Regions from separate parts of the Homo sapiens genome. Here region 2 is linked to region 1. Evidence: promoter capture Hi-C in 16 types of primary human blood cells and fetal thymus (Javierre and others, 2016). All regions are on one chromosome and are shown on one strand. The core of a region is centred on a gene start or on the middle of the fragment in contact, and the rest is flanking DNA. Distances in the headings are between cores, read along the strand shown.

What was found. Contacts are between HindIII fragments. The CHiCAGO score rates a contact against its expected background, and 5 or more counts as called.
Region 2: a fragment that was not itself captured here is called in contact with the fragment with the promoter of FBXO7 in region 1 in 1 of 17 cell types (total CD8 T cells); the score reaches 5.1 in total CD8 T cells.

Annotation. Positions count from the first base shown.
Region 1 is chr22:32,472,021-32,476,526 of GRCh38, forward strand. FBXO7 (F-box protein 7) reads left to right here and starts at 2,791. Exons shown (of 9, transcript NM_012179.4): 1 at 2,791-3,104. The coding sequence starts at 2,983. RefSeq lists enhancers at 1,766-1,825, 2,551-3,051, 2,714-2,883, 3,052-3,552, 3,138-3,307 and silencers at 2,872-3,061, 3,072-3,381. The HindIII fragment of the contact is 4,456 bases long and covers 47-4,502 here.
Region 2 is chr22:26,673,716-26,678,262 of GRCh38, forward strand. It overlaps MIAT (myocardial infarction associated transcript), which reads left to right. Exons shown (of 5, transcript NR_033320.3): 5 at 1-2,763. The region is part of intron 1 of MIATNB (MIAT neighbor); the gene reads left to right. Among named protein-coding and RNA genes, the nearest start is that of MIATNB, 3.1 kb to the left of the region's middle. The HindIII fragment of the contact is 1,692 bases long and covers 405-2,096 here.

The DNA.
Region 1 (4,506 bases), core at 1,541-4,040:
CCTCATCAGGCCAGTTTTCAGCTTGGTTCTGAGCTTCATTCTTGGAAGCTTAGCCTGGGGCCACTTCTCCATCCTCCCTAGAATTCCCTGAGCTGTACAGCATCCTTTTAATACACACCTTTTCTGCTTAGTCAGCCAGAGTCAGCTTCTACTGCTGAAAATTAAGAACCCTGATAGTAAAGACTCCCTGCTAAAAACTGTCTAGCGGCTTCCCATACATTCTAGAATATGTCCCAAACCCTGTGCTTAGCCCAAGGCTCTTCTTTATCTGGGATGTACCTATGCTGTCCATCACTCTGGTCACACAGAGTCATCCTGGTCCTGGCACCATTCCTCACTGCTCACTACTAAAGAATCCTACGGGCATGGCAAACCTCCTCTATGTACCCTCTTAAAACCAAAATGTATTCAAACACCCATGCTAACATTCTTAAATATCTGCTAGCCATAATAAAAAAATCAATGTACTTTACAATCTTAACTCCCACAATTTAGCCTAAATATTTGCCCTAACATATTTATACTAGTTCAAACAAACATTAAGTCATAGCCTATTCCTCTTCCTTAAAGGGGTGTTGACCTTTCTCAACATTCCACAAGTTACTTCCTCCTTGCTTTGTTCTCCTCTGCCTTTGCCTCTTTTAAAAAGTTCTAAATTACTAGCCAATCAAGACAAATACAAAATATAAAGTCCCATTCCAGCCAATAAAAACCAGACACAGGCCAGGCGCGGTGGCTCACGCCTGTAATCCCAGCACTTTGGGAGGCCGAGGCGGGCGGATCAGGTCAGGAGATCGAGACCATCCTGGCTAACACGGTGAAACCCCATCTCCACTAAAATAATAATAAAATAATAATAATAATAATAATAATAATAATAATAATAATAATACAAAAATTAGCCAGGTGTGGTGGCGGGTGCCTGTAGTCCCAGCTACTCGGGAGGCTGAGGCAGGAGAATGGCGTGAACCCAGGAGGCGGAGCTTGCAGTGAGCCGAGATCACGCCACTGCACTCCAGCCTGGGCGACAGAGCGCGACTCCATCTCAAACAACAACAACAACAAAAAAAAACAAAAACAAACAAAAAACCAGACACAGCAGTAAAGTGGACACATCAGGTTATATATGACCCTGTCTCCTTTGTTCGGTGTACTCTCGTGACAAAACTGCTGGCGAGTATACCCTTTCTACAAAAAATAAAAATGGCCTTGCTAAAAAAATTAAATTTATATTCAAGTGCTATTTCTTTACAACATCAAAAAACAAACATTTCTAACAATCCCATTCCTCAGGTCTGTATTTATGTCTATCATAAAGCAGAGACTTTTTACACTCTACTGAAAGAGCTGATTCACTCAACTGTAAACTTTGCATGGGCAGAAACATGTCTTTTTGGTCTCTTGAGTCTCCAGCATGTGGGGTATCTGTCACAAAGTAGGCAATCAATACATATTTATTTGCAGAATCAAGGGCAGGATGTGGACAAGTGCTGCCACCTATTGGGAGAAACTTTATTTGACTCTAAGGATTTGGACTATGGTTATCACACAAGGACGAAACTTGATACTCTCTCTCATCTAAGTTATCATTAGTTAGACCCTCTATGGTAGCCAGCCTCCAGGATGGCCCGCAGCGATCCCTGTCTGTTGGCATTCATACCTTTGGCTGGATCCTCTCACACATAGGGTTGGTTTGTAAATATGACAAAAGCCGTATGTGACCTCTGGAGCTAGGTCATAAAAGACATTGTGGCTTATACCTTGGTCTCTCTGGGATCACCTGCTCTGAAGGAAGCCAGCTGCCATGTCATGGGGACACTCAAACAGCCCTATGGGGAGGTTCACGTGGTGAAAACAGGTCTCTGGCCAACAGTCATGACTGTGCCATCCTGGAGGCCGATCCTCCAGCCCTAGTCAATAACTGCTGCCCTGGCCTACAGTTTGTAATCTCATGGGAGACCTGGAGACAGAACCACCCAGCCACGCATCCCCAAATCCCTTTACCTCTAAAACCTGTGGGACAACAAATGTTTATTGCGTTAAACTTTGGGGTGATTGTTATGCAGCCACAGAGTTCTAATAAACTGTCGGACATAGATTACTGGCTACAAATAGTTCTACTTTTTTTTTGAGACAGGGTCTCGTTCTGTGGAACCAGGCTGAGGTGCAGTGGTGCGATCACAGCTCATTGAGGCCTCGACCTCCGGGCTCAATCGACCCTCCCGCCTCAGCCACCCAACTAGCTGGGACTACAGGCAGGCGCCACCACACCTAATTTTTTGTATTTTTTGTAGAGATGGGGGGGGGGGTTTCACCATGTTGCCCAGGCTGGTCTCGAACTCCTGGGCTCAAACGATCCACCCGCCTCGGCCTCCCAAAGTGCTGGGATTACAGGCGTGAGCCACCGCGCCCGGCCAACCTAAGGATTAACCTAAGGCTTCTCAGAGCAGATGCCGCTGGAACTGAGGGCCACGGAAGAAAGGGGGTGACACTTGGTCCTGGGGAGTGGCGACTGTATTGTCTGTCTGCAGCATCCCTATCAGCGCTACCGTTGTTCCACGCACACAGGGAGTAAGTACTGGGAGTCCCAGCCACCGCCGCGGAAAATCTGGGATGCCAGCGAGCGGCCGCATCTCGGCGCCTGCGCACTGTGCCCGCGCTCTCAGGCAGCGCCGTTGCGCGCGGAGTCATCGATCGGCCGACCCCGAGAGGCCCGGTTCCTTTAGGCCGCCTGCCCGCCTCCAGCTCTCGGGGTCGGCTCCAGGAGGCGCCCTCAGGAGAGGGGCGGGCGCTCTATTCCAGAGACCGAGTGGCAGGGCGGCCACTGTGGCGGGGCTCTTTCCCCGTTTCGCCTCAGCTACCCCTCAGCTCCGGTAGTCGCCAGTCCGGGGTCGTCGCCGTTTGGGGCGGGAGCTGCTCGGCCCCGCCGCCGTCCCCGTCGCCGCTTCCGGGTCCAGGCCCCTCGGGCCGCCTGCCGCCGTCATGAGGCTGCGGGTGCGGCTTCTGAAGCGGACCTGGCCGCTGGAGGTGCCCGAGACGGAGCCGACGCTGGGGCATTTGCGCTCGCACCTGAGGCAGTCCCTGCTGTGCACCTGGGGGTACAGGTACGCTGGGGCCGGGGCTGGGCGGCCCGCGGGGAGTGGGGAGTGCTTGGGGTGGGTGCAGGGCGGGTTGGCGTCATCTGTGGGCTGCAGGCGCGGGCGTGGCCGGGCGATAGGCCAAGTGCGGGGACGCCGGGGGGGCCTTCACGGGAGGCCCGGGCTCTTCCGGGCGTCGCGGAGCCGGAGGGTGCAGGCGACGGGAAGCGCGGGTGGTCGGCTGGGGTCCGGCTCCTGGAGAACATGGCCCGGCCTCCCGGGGGCTCTGGTCCCCTCCTCGGTGAGTCATGGCTTCTGGTTTTGCAGTAAACGGAACCAGGGAGAGGAGGGAACGCACAATTTCCACAACTGGTTAGATTTCAAGTTGGAAATGATGAGCTTGGCTTGGGTTAAACCTTTCTGGACTGTGAGGGGTCCGAGTTAATTTCTTCAGCTGTTGGAGTATTTCAATGAAAAAGTTTGGAAATTGCTAGAAGTTAAAAATCTGCCCTCAATCCGAGGCCACCGGTAGCTTGTATCGCTGCTGTGAAGCGGCAACAATTTTAGATTCTGTTGTGTTCATGCGCCGAGCACCGCGGTGAGCGCTTGGACTTCGCCGCCGAAAAGTTTTAGAAAGGACAGCGTGTAGGCGTGTTTCAGACCATTTCATTTTCTTGGGTGAAATGTTGCTTTTTTGCTAAAACTGAGGCAAACGTTGATCTTGAGAGCTTGCAGTTTGGGGGCAGTAAAGTTGAGAAAGGATCATATTCTGTTATTGGTTTGTGGGACTGCAGGTGAAGCTGCTTTGTTTCCCTAAAAGATACTTTTTGGGGACAATAATTTGGGAGTAAAGCGGCAAGGTAAGAGTGGTCCTCTTCAAATACTGAGCTAGTGAATTTGAAACTTGAGTGTGCTAAGGAAAAATGAAAAAGATGTTCCCTGGGGATTTTTAGGTGAATTCTTCAAAACAAAAGCAAACCTTCCTACGTTTTCACCTTATTTTTAGGGAATTGGGTAAAATGAGGCCGTTATTCTGAACTTCTCGCCCTTTCATTTTCCTGGTTAAGACATTATTAGATTGAAAGTAAGCCTGTTTTCTTCCTGATTAAAAAAAAAACCCTAAATAAGATACTGACATAACTCCTTTTAAACATTATAGTAAGTGACATGCCTACTGTTATTTCTTGTTGTTAAACCTGTGTGTTTTACATACTGGCATCGTTACCAGTAGGTTACGAGTAGAAGATTGAATAAATCTTCAAACTTATTTTTTAAAGGTATTACCAAGTATATATATATTTTATTATTTTTAAATTAGGCAGTCTTGAAAGGACGTGAAACTCAATATGACTGCCCAAAAGGGCACGTTGGTTTCTCTTTCAGATTTCTTTTTACAGTTGAGGCTGGTTACCTGGACAGAATTTAAGCT
Region 2 (4,547 bases), core at 1-2,500, 5.8 Mb before region 1:
CATAGCTAACAATTTTGGGCGTGGTGGCTGCTCTGAGTCAGAACAATCAGAAGTCGGTAAAGATGGTAGTTTTCTAAAGGAGGTGCCAGGGCTCTGGTGTGGACCAGGCCTGATGGAGCAGTGGTACCCACCAAGGTGGGGTCAGAAGTATAGCCAGTCTTGCAAGGTTTTGGCCATTGGGCATATCTTCACTCCTCATAGTCTGCATTTGGTTTCAGTTCTTAAAAAAATATAGCCTTATAGCTACAGTAGTTTGCACAAGTAGATGCAGCTCTTATAAACCTTAAAATACCTGTCTGGTGTCTACAGAGCATATGCCATTTTGTATAGAGTCACCCTTCCCCAGGCCAGGGCCTAGAGTCTTCATTTTGGGGACTTTGTGTTTTGGAAGTTCTAGGACATAAAGCTTTAGATCAGAGTATTCAGAAGGGTTATAACTCCGTCAGTCATTTACATGTTAGTAGTATAAATTATCTGAGCTTCCTGTTCTAACTTTTAGCTCTTCTAGCATAAACTCTTCTGTGCAATTTAGCTGCACCGAGGAAACGGGAGTTTTTCTGGAAGGGACTTTTGATCTCTTTAGACTGAGGGAACGTCCTTTGGGAGTAGAGGGGCAGGGAGCATACGCAAGGGATTCCAGGTGCAGGTAAAAGGTGGCACTAGTTCAAGGTTTTGCTGACTCAGTCTGGTAGTCAGAGTCTGCAGGAGAAGACAGTTCAAGGCAGGGCCTGGAGGATTGGATCAGTTTAGGGACAGGTCAAAGGCTGGCTTACAGACCTTAGAGGCAGGTTGCTTGGGTCGTTGAATGCTAGTCTGGTGCTGAGAGCCCTTTTCTCTGGCAACTGTGGACTCAGAGCTAACCAATTGTAGTTGGCAGTGGGGGTGAAGGGTGATCCAGAGGCCTGAGCTGCAGAGGGCACAAGAGAGAAAAGATGTCTTAGAAAGAGCTTTGAGAACATGCCTTGGCTGCTGGCAGGGACCTTGGATGGGGTAGTCTACACCCGGAAGTGCCTGCCTGCCATCCTCTAGTGGCTGCCTTGCTCCATTTCACTCAAAGCAGGAAGCTCACACCTCCTATTCCTGAAACTCCTCTTTGTTTAACTGCAAAGACTTGATGCTGCTAAGGATCTACTATGTGCCAGGCACTGCTCTGGGCGCTGGGACCTGCACCTGGGCTTTTTCGTCATGGTGCTTTTATAGCCTAGTGGGAGAGTTGGTGAAGTAGATAGTGATTCAGTGAGATGGGTGTTATGATTGGTCAGGGGTCTGTGGGAGCACCAAGGAGACAGACAAGATTGATGTGCACCTACTCTGTGCCAGGCGTGTGCCAGGCATTGGGGATGTAGTGGTAGTTAAACACCATTTGGTCTTCAGGAGCTTTAATTCTAGTGTGTTGGGTGCAGGGGGGTGGAATGGGGACAGAGAGACACCTAATCCACCCTGTGGTGGCTTTCTGGAGAGGGAGGCATCTAAGCTGAGCTGTGGCTGGGTGGAGTGTGGGTGGGGATGAGTTCCGGGCAGCGAGAGTGGTGGACACCAGTTTCTGGGGATCAGAGAGGATCCAAAGAGGTTCTGGAAGGTTCATGTGGAATGTAGCAAGAGATAGGAGACATGGACATGGTGCCGGGTCTGGTTGCCAAGAAGTTTAGATTTTATCCTTAGGCCTTGGGGAGCGACGGATATGATCTGAGAAAGGGAGTTAGTGGATTTGAGTTTTAGGCTGGCCATTTGGCTTTTCCAGCCCAGGTGGAACTCAGAGGAGTTTGCAATGGCCTCTGGCCACATTTTAGACAACTGAGCAGAACTTTTTGAAACTAGGAAGACCCTTTGGTCCATCTTTTGATAAACAGAATCCATACATGTCTACCCCAGTTGGAAGTATCTCTGCAATGACTGGAAAGTAAAGAGGACCAAGGTGAAAATAAAGGCTCGGAAGGGGAGCAATCTTGAAAACATGTCATCCCATGGTGGTGGGAAGTCCCTGGAGAAGATCAGGGGAAACACAGTCATAGGCTGCAAGTCTATAAGATAATTCCATTGGGGAGGGAGCCCATTTGTCATGCATGGCTGCAAGGGGCAGATACAAGTGTGGAGTAAGCTTGCAAGAGCTGATCCTGGTCCCAGAGAGGGAAAAATATGCCTTGGTGGGTAATGAACCTTTTGTTCCCAGAGGCAGAAGGATTGGGACTAGGCCAACATAGAGATTGGCGATGGTTGTGAGATTCTAAGAGTGTGTGTGCATCTTGACAATATTAGAGGAGGCTGAGCCCAAGCAGGCACATTCTCTTCGACCCCTCCCTCATTCAGTCTGCTTTGGAGTCTACTGAACATCAAGCTTGCTATGAGCAGGATCTTAGAGCTGAGGAATTGGCCTCCCAATCCGAACAGGTGTTATAATCCTTTCTTAATAGGTTGTGCTGTGGACCCAATGTGAGGGCTGTGCTGGTGTAAATGGTGACATGTTGAGCTGGGGGGATGCTTTCGGGGTGGGGGGACTGGTTCCATTCCATCAAAGGCCCTCTTGAGAGTCTATCCAGGGACCCATTGTTTTACTTTAACAGACCAGAAAAGATGTTTGTTTTCCATGTCATTACCCCCAGGGGATACCGAATGTGTGGGTAGAAATTTCTCTGTAGATTAAAAATCAGATTTTTACATGGATTCAACAAAGGAGCGTCACTTGGATTTTTGTTTTCATCCATGAATGTAGCTGCTTCTGTGTAAAATGCCATTTTGCTATTAAAAATCAATTCACGCTGGAAACATGACTGTGGCCTATGAAGCAGAAGGGACGTGCTGTTTAGGGGAGAGGGGGCAGCCAGTGGCATTCTCAAGGAGCAGGGGTGGGCTCTCTCGGTGAGTCAGCCTTTCCTCAAGAGTGACCCTAGAAGTCAATATAATAGGGTATTTTATTTTTTAATTTTGGTAAAATAATCATAACATAAAACTTCACCACCATAATAATTTCTAAGTGAACATCTTGGTGGTATCATTCACATTGTTGTGCAACCATTATCACCATTGGTATTTATTTTTCTTTTCTTTTTTTTAGAGATGAGGTCTTGCTATGTTGCCCAGGCTGGCTTTGATCTCCTGGTCTCAAGCGATCCTCTTGCTTCAGCCTCTTGAGTAGCTGGGACTGCAGGCGTGCACCACTGTGCCTGGTGGTATTTTTAAAAAATAACACTTCTTTATGCCTAGGGCAGTGCTTCCAGAAATCCAGGTTCTTATTGCCAGGGAATTTGTTTATTTTATTATTATTTTTTTTTTGAGATGGAGTCTTGCTCTGTTGCCCAGACTGGGGTGCAGTGGCGCGGTCTCGGCTCACTGTAAGCTCTGCCTCCTGGGTTCACGCCATTCTCCTGCCTCAGCCTCCTGAGTAGCTGGGACTACAGGCACCCACCACCACGCCCGGCTAATTTTTTGTATTTTTAGTAGAGACGGGGTTTCACCGTGTTAGCCAGGATGGTCTCGATCTCCTGACCTCGTGATCTGCCCGCCTCGGCCTCCCAAAGTGCTGGGTTTACAGGCTTGAGCCACCGCGCATGGCCTGCCAGGGATCTTATACTTCACTGGGGAGTCAAAGAGTTCCTTGGTGACAGAGAAAAAGATAGAGTTTAGTGTGTGATCGTGAAGGACTGGCAAATATAAGCCACACACATCGCCACTCTTCCCTTCAGCATCCTTGACAGACATTGCAAGTTGATTGCCTATCTCTCTTTGGGAACTTGGGTGCATTTTCAGGCTCTTTCTCAGAACAGTGTTCTGGGTAGCCAAGTTTTAAAAGAACTTTGGAGTCAGTCTTAGGATTGAGACTACTGATAATCCTCAGTTTGAATCCCAGCTTTGCCACACACCTGCTGTTAGATCTTGGGGATGATTGCCCTTCCCTGAGCCTCCATCGGCTCTGTAGAATGGGGAGACCACTCCCACCTCATAGGGCCATTGTGAAGGTTCCCAAGCGTTCTTGCAGAGCTAAGACAGCGCTTGATGCCCTGCAAGTGTTCCCTGAAACCTCATTCTGTGTTAGCACCAGATGATGAGATTGGGGGCCAGAGGTGCTCTGTTGGAAAGAAGGTCAGGAGGAGGTGGGGTGAGGGTGGGGGCAGTAAGGGATGGCTTTCTGGGAGAATCAAAACTTGAGGGGAACCTTGAAGGATGGGGAATAGTCAATAAATCAGGAGAAAATAGTGATGGTGCAGGGCATTTCAGGATGGCTTCTCCAAGATTCATTGGACTGGTTCGGTAGGAGATGAGGATATTGATAGGATATTGGGGTGGGGGCAGGGTGGACACTTCAGAGGAGGTTACAGATTGAGCTAAGAAGTGGAGGCTGGTCTGTGCAGCAGTGTTCAAGGCGTGGTAAGAAGAGTTGGGAATCTCCCACGGCTGGCAGAACTTGTGAGCCCCCCTGCCCTCAAAGGACTACAAGACCCCTAATGAGAAGAGAGCTTCCTCCCAGTCCTCCTTTCTCTTCCTCCTCTCCCTCCCTCTATTCACCCAGCAGCTGTTTACTGAGTCCTTCTTTTATAGTGGGCACTGCCCTA